Linked DNA regions of Homo sapiens: region 1 is linked to region 2. Evidence: promoter capture Hi-C in 16 types of primary human blood cells and fetal thymus (Javierre and others, 2016). All regions are on one chromosome and are shown on one strand. The core of a region is centred on a gene start or on the middle of the fragment in contact, and the rest is flanking DNA. Distances in the headings are between cores, read along the strand shown.

Region 1 (3,283 bases), core at 436-2,935, 1.9 Mb after region 2:
CATACCATTTTGCCATTGCATAAAGAGTCCCCAGGTGTTGTCTTCAGTGCTGAAGATGGCTGCTGTGTCCATTGGATTTTGGAAAAGAGGGCTGTTCAGAAATGGCTTTAGAATAGAATCGCAGCTTAGATAGACCCAAAAAGAACCTTAGCCTTCCTGCCTCATCCTCTCCCTTTTTTTTTTTTTTTTTTGAGACTGAGTCTTACTCTGTCGCTCAGGCTGGAGTGCAGTGGTGGGATCTTAGCTCACTGCAACTTCCGCCTCCTGGGTTGAGGCAATTCTCCTGCCTCAGCCTCCCAGGTAGCTGGGACTACAGGCATGCGCCACCACGCCCCACTAATTTTTTTTTTTTTTTTTGTATTTTTAGTAGAGACAGGGTTTCATCATGTTGGCCAGGATGGTCTCGATCTCTTGACCTTGTAATCCACCCACCTCGGCCTCCCGAAGTGCTGGGAATACAAGCGTGAGCCACCACGCCCAGCCTCTTCCTCTTCTTTGATAGGTAAAGGGTATGCAGTTACTTACCCAGAATCTCACAGCAAGCATCACATACCCTCAAGGCTCTCGGGTCCTACATCTAGAGCATGGGGTCTGGCCAGAGGACCCAGCATTACTGTGCTAAGCCCCACCACTCGCCATCAGGGTTGCTTCAAGCACAGTTTTTAACCCCTTGGAGCCCCAGTCTATAGGATAAAAACAGTACCAACCTCCTAGGGATATTTTAAGAGCTAAATATCACAACATACATAAAATATTTAACCCTGTATCTGGCACCTTTTAGATAATTGATTGGCAAATGTTGACTATTGTTTTATATGTTAACATAATGCATACTTAGTTTTATGCTACAGTATTAATAAAATACTGGGAAAAATTAAAGTCAAGCAGTAGTTTACACTGTAATACAACAGCATGTTCTTTATCCAATAAAATACTTCTTCTTTTTTTTTTTTTTTTTTCAAGATGGCGTCTTGCTCCGTCACCCAGGCTGGAGTGCAGTGGTGCGATCTCGGCTCACTGCAACCTCCGTCTCCTGGGTTCCAGCAGTTCTCCTGTCTTAGGCTCCAGAGTAGCTGGGATTACAGGCACCTGCCACCACGCCTGGCTAATTTTTGTATTTTTAGTAGAGACGGGGTTTCACCTTGTTGGTCAGGCTGGTTTCCAACTGCTGACCTCAGGTGATCCACCCACCTCAGCCTCCCAAAGTGCTGGGATTACAGGAGTGAGCCACTGTATCTGGCTAAAATACTTTAAAAAGAGTATTGAAAACACTGATTTTGATGATGAACACCAGGAACACAAACAGGCCTCACAAATCAAGGTAGAAGCTTCGTCCTACAAGGCGCTGACATCCAAAGGGAGGCAACTTCATTCTTGACCCAGAAAGGAATTTCACTTTTACCTTCTTCCATTGTTTTGGCTAGTGTCTGACTGACTAGATTTTATACCACAGCTTTATTGAGATATAATTCACATACCATCAAATTTACCCACTTAAAAAGGAGAATTTCAGGGGGGTAGTATATTCGCAGCATTGTGCAACCATGACCATGATTAATTTTAGAACATTTTTCATCACCCCAAAAGAAACCCCATGCCCATTAGCAGTGATTGACTTGATTTGTAATTTTCAATCTTTTCTACTAGTTTTTGAATATTTCTGAATCCGAGGAGCCTCTTTGTTTCTCCAGGCACATGAGACCACGGCAGTTGGCGGACTCGTTTCCTCCTGCCAGCCCCAGTTCTTCTTTCATTCCTGTCCACCTGCAGTTGTCAGTTAACCCCGCCCCCGCTTTCTGCTGTATTTTATATTCCATCAAGAGAATTTAAAGTACTGACTCCTCACTCTGACAATTTGCAATTCTCACAGTTTCACACCAGTTTCCTCGCCGATATTCATCCTCAAGTCTAAATTAATTCAGCCTCGCCAAAGTGTGGGAGATGAAAAACATTCTATCCAGGTTGAAAGCCACACTCATACATTATCACTCAGGCATAAAAACACATTTATTGGTCAAAACTTTTACAAATGGAAAGCTTTTAAAAAACATACCACAACGAATCCCATATAGAAAATATACAAATTTCACAGTCTCCTATAAAGATTTTAACAAGTAATAAACAGTGTTATTCCATAGTTTTGAATGATAGAAAGGAGGAAACTTCTGAGATAAATTCCACCTATTTTTATTTAGGGAATTAAATTTTTTCTCAGAAACACATGACTAAATATTATTGTGATCCTAGAGAAATTCCAGTAGCAATTTGTTTCATATATATATATATTTATATAATTTGTTTTATATATATATAAAACGTGTGCATGTGTGTGCATGTATGTGTATATGCACATATACACACATACATACACCAAGAAAGTGAGATAATCATTTCAGCTCACTGCATTTCTTGGAGGAACAGAAATAAGTGACAAAGGCGGAGGAAAAGGCAGAGTTATCAGGTAAACCTACACCTCCAATTAGATGTTATTGCCTTGACAGATAAAAGGCCAGGCAGAGACCATAAGATACAGGCAGAAATGACCTGGAGGATCATTCACTCCCAACTCTATTTACCTAGGAAAGAACAGAGTCCAGGTTACCTAGCCAATTACTAGAAGATCAGAGGCTGAAGGACTATCTAAAACAGAAGGCTGGAGAGTAGAAAAATGTGGCAACCAGGTTCTAGTTCTCTGATTGTCCCCACATCACTGCAAACCCACATTGCAGGGTCTGGAATCCAACCAGAAAGATCTAAGGCTCCAAGTTGGTCTGGAAATGGAGTAGGAGAGAATTAAGCAGGCTTGGGGAACGCCAGCAACATCAGGTTCATGTCTGTTCTCAAGAGAGCCTAAGATGATTCTTAACCAGAATCTAAGAGCTATTAAAAAAAAAAAAAAAAAAGCAGCTGTGATAACTCAGCTGAATGAGGCTGGAGCCAGAATTGAGTCTGGGCTTAGTACCATCAATGAGGTGACAGAAGCTCGGCCTCCACCTCTGTCTGAGTAATAGGATTGCTCTGGCCTGCTCTAATGATCACAACACGACTGATGGAAGATTTTTTTCTGGGTCTGTCAGTTGTCATGGGCATATGACACCTTGCCTTATTCACTGCTCCAATACACAAGGCTCTCGAGGCTAAACTTGTTGTTGAAAACTTGGACTTTTCCCAAGACACAGCACCAAAATAGCTCTTACAAAAGGGAAAAATCAACAACGTGGTGTACCGGCCCCCAAAAAGAAAAATGTTCTCAATGCCAATAAGACAGCTTGATTCTGCACTG
Region 2 (3,248 bases), core at 304-2,803:
TTAGCTTCAGTATTTACAGATATTGTCTTAAGCAACATTCTTGTTTCTTAAGCTCCTGCTTTAATTAGCCAATACCAAAAAACTCCCACAAAAAAAAAAAAAAAACAAGAAAATATGGTATTTGCAGTGGGGCGTTTTAAGCAAGAAGGGGCTTTAAGCACAACACTCATAAGCTTAGTCATCAGGATTAAGTTAATTTAGGGCAAATTCAACCTTACAGTCAACAAATAAGTGTATTTCACTTTATATTGTTTGCTATTTAAAAGTATTAAAATTCCAGCTTCTAAATGTAGATATCCATCCCCCAAACATATGCTTCTTTAAAATAGGAAGAACACAAACTTTAATAAGAACTCACGTATTCCCTTGCAGAGTCAGAAACCCAAACATAACAGCAATTGGGCAAGTAGGTAAATGAGGAAGTACAATTCATAACAAATGGACAGCAAAACCGATAAGTCAAATTAGACATTTTGACTATAAAGCGACCAAACGCCTCTCCTCCAAAACCAAAAGCCAAAACCTTTTCAAATATACAGCAACTGAATCAGACGGTAATTTTGGCTTTAAAAATCTACAATACTCTTGGTAATGGTAGAAATGATTTATCCGGTAGGTTAAAGATAGGTTTCTATCATTCCACTTAACATTATTTACCAAATGCTGCATTTCATTAATGGAGCTGTCAGTTTATTCTGATGGTAATGAAAAACAGGTTTTAACATGAATAAGCCCTGGGTCCACCAGAAAATATCAGTGAATCAAGAGGTCCCGAAGCTTATGCAGTTTAAGGGAACTTCGTAGATTAAATTTCCACCTTCCAGTCCTGAGAGCTGTGGTGTGCACACCCAGTCCGAATACCTTGTTGAGCATACAGGACACTAATTTCCGACACTGCAGCTAACTCCTGCACAAACTCTTCAAGTTGCAGGCTTCTACTCAAGTACCCATCCCTAGTCCACATGCCCTAGAAAAACACAGGAACCAGTTCGGGACGTAGTTACACATCTAGCACCCCACGCTCCTCCTCAAGACTATCCTCCTGCTGTCCCAGCCCAGTGGGGCCCAGCCCACTACCATCCCGCTCCCGCTCTCCGAACTTCCCCCCTCCCACTCCCCACCATGTGACCAGGACCCTCCCAACCGCCGCTCCGAGCTCCACCAATCAGCAACCACCTCCACCCAGAACCCGGGACCTGGCGCTCCACTTTCAAAAAGGCAGCTTAATCCTCCCGCCCTCAGCCACGCCCCCTTTCCGCTTCCCCGCCCCGCCGGCCCCTCCCACTTCCTTCAGTTCCCTGTTCCCCTCCTCCCCTCCGGTGGCGCCCACCCTCTCCCGGGCTTCGCCCCGCCCACCAGGGGGGCAGCGCGCTCGCCCTCTTCTCGCGAGATCTGAGCGTCCCCCGCGGCGGCCGCCGGGCTCCCCCTCCCGTCCTCCCACCTCCCTCCCCCGGCATCTCTCACTCTCCGGCTCTCCTCCCTCCCTCCTCCCCCCTCCACCCTCTGGGCCGGATCTCGTCTCGCTCAGGCGGAGGAGGAGAAGGAGGAGGAGGAGGACGACGTTCGGCCTGCGCAGTGAGATGTTTGTCCGTCGCCGCCGCCGCCGCCATCGCGGAGGAGCGCGATAAAGGGAGCCGAGCCGGACGTGAGGGGGACCCCGCGGAGCCGCCGCGCCAGCGCAGCCCCCCAGCCGCATCGGAGTCGCCAGAGTCCGAGCCGCCGCCGCCGCCGCCGCCGCCCCCGCCGCCGCCGCGGCTGCCCAGGGGCCGGCCAGCTCCCCAGCCCTGCCCGGGGGTCGCGCCGCCGCCGCCCCCAGCGTCGCCCCTAGCCTGCCTGCCCGCCTTAAATGTGACACCGGCGTCGCGGAGCGCGACCTGAAGCCGCCGCCGGGGAGGGGACGAGCACCATGTCGAATCTGAGCAAAGGCACGGGCAGCCGGAAGGACACCAAGATGCGGATCCGGGCCTTTCCGGTGAGTCTCTCCTCGGCGTCCGGGACCCCGGGGCCGGGGGCCGGGCCGAGAGCCGCACGCGAGGCCCGGGCTGAAGTCCCCCAACAGGCCGCAGGCCCGGCCTCCCCTCCCCCACGCCCGCCGGCCGCGGGGCGCGAGCCTTCCCGGCAACCGGGCGGCGCGGGGCCCCGGCGCGGCCGCCCTCCCGGGCCGTTCCCCGCGCCGGGAGCCCGGGCCTGGCGCCGCGCCCCCGTCCGGGAGCTGCTCCTTCAGCCGCTCCGCGGGCGTCGGCTGCGGCCGGGGCCCCTCGGCCGCCCCACGCCTCCCCACGTTGCCGGGGTTGTAGGCCCAGTCTCCGGCGCTGCTAGCAGCCGCGGAGTCCTCCCTGTGTGGGGCGTGTGTGGAACTTTTCACGTGGGGTTTCGCTACACTTTGAAAATTTACCCAGCCTAGCTTTTAGGGTGATGAAGGGGCTGCCCTCTCTCTCTGCCCCCCTCCCCAGGAAGGTCTATGCCATCAACCTGCCCCCGACGCAGTGACAGTGGTTCCACGGAATGCTCCGTGGTCATAAACTAGTAACATTGGGTGTATTTATAGCGTCTTTCATCCTACAAGCTTCCTAAGCACTTTACAAACTCTTGTGCAGGATTGCCTCGCCACTCGGAGGAAGGCCGGGTGGGGGGGAAGCAACAGAGAGCAAACCGGCCAATTGGTTCTCCATTTCTCAGCCTTGGGAGCCCAAAGAATGAGTGTAGTCGCCTTGCGGAGTAGCTTTGTTTCATCGCTTTCAGTGACAGCAAACGTGTTCTGCTCAGAAACTTTTTCTTTTTTGGCATTACGTTGAGTCGTACCCTTGCGATGTTTAGTATATAGGATATAACTTTGGGTGTCAAATCTGGTTCAGCTTCCCCGTGGCAAGCAATTAAAATGTACTGTTAACGAACTGGGCATACTTGCCTATGTCGCTACAATAAAAGGCATACGTCAAGACAGACGAACTAGCAATCGGACAGAAGATTTTAAAAAGTAAAATTAGAGAAAGATCTTGGTCTTCCCTTCTTAGATTCATAAATACTTCATATGATGTACCAGCGAAAGAGGGGGATTTGTTGTCACTTTTTAAAGCATGCTTTTCCTGAAGCGCAGTTGCAGTGAGGAAAGACTTACCTTGATGTGATTGCCCCAGTTGAGTCAAGTGATTTAGTTTCAGAGAACATGAGGACCTCTCTGAATTCCTAAAATTTAAAAGGATACACCTCATGCAGAATTCTGAAATTGTAAGAACATAAATACTAAA

The links. The method cuts DNA at HindIII sites, captures the fragments that hold promoters and counts their contacts. A CHiCAGO score of 5 or more calls a contact.
Region 1: a fragment that was not itself captured here is called in contact with the fragment with the promoter of CUL3 in region 2 in 1 of 17 cell types (M0 macrophages); the score reaches 5.1 in M0 macrophages.

What each region holds. Positions count from the first base shown.
Region 1 is chr2:222,714,405-222,717,687 of GRCh38, reverse strand. No RefSeq gene overlaps it. Among named protein-coding and RNA genes, the nearest start is that of MOGAT1, 44 kb to the right of the region's middle. The HindIII fragment of the contact is 709 bases long and covers 1,331-2,039 here.
Region 2 is chr2:224,583,668-224,586,915 of GRCh38, reverse strand. CUL3 (cullin 3) reads left to right here and starts at 1,553. Exons shown (of 16, transcript NM_003590.5): 1 at 1,553-1,972. The coding sequence starts at 1,907. RefSeq lists silencers at 1,080-1,499, 1,830-2,089. The HindIII fragment of the contact is 1,789 bases long and covers 780-2,568 here.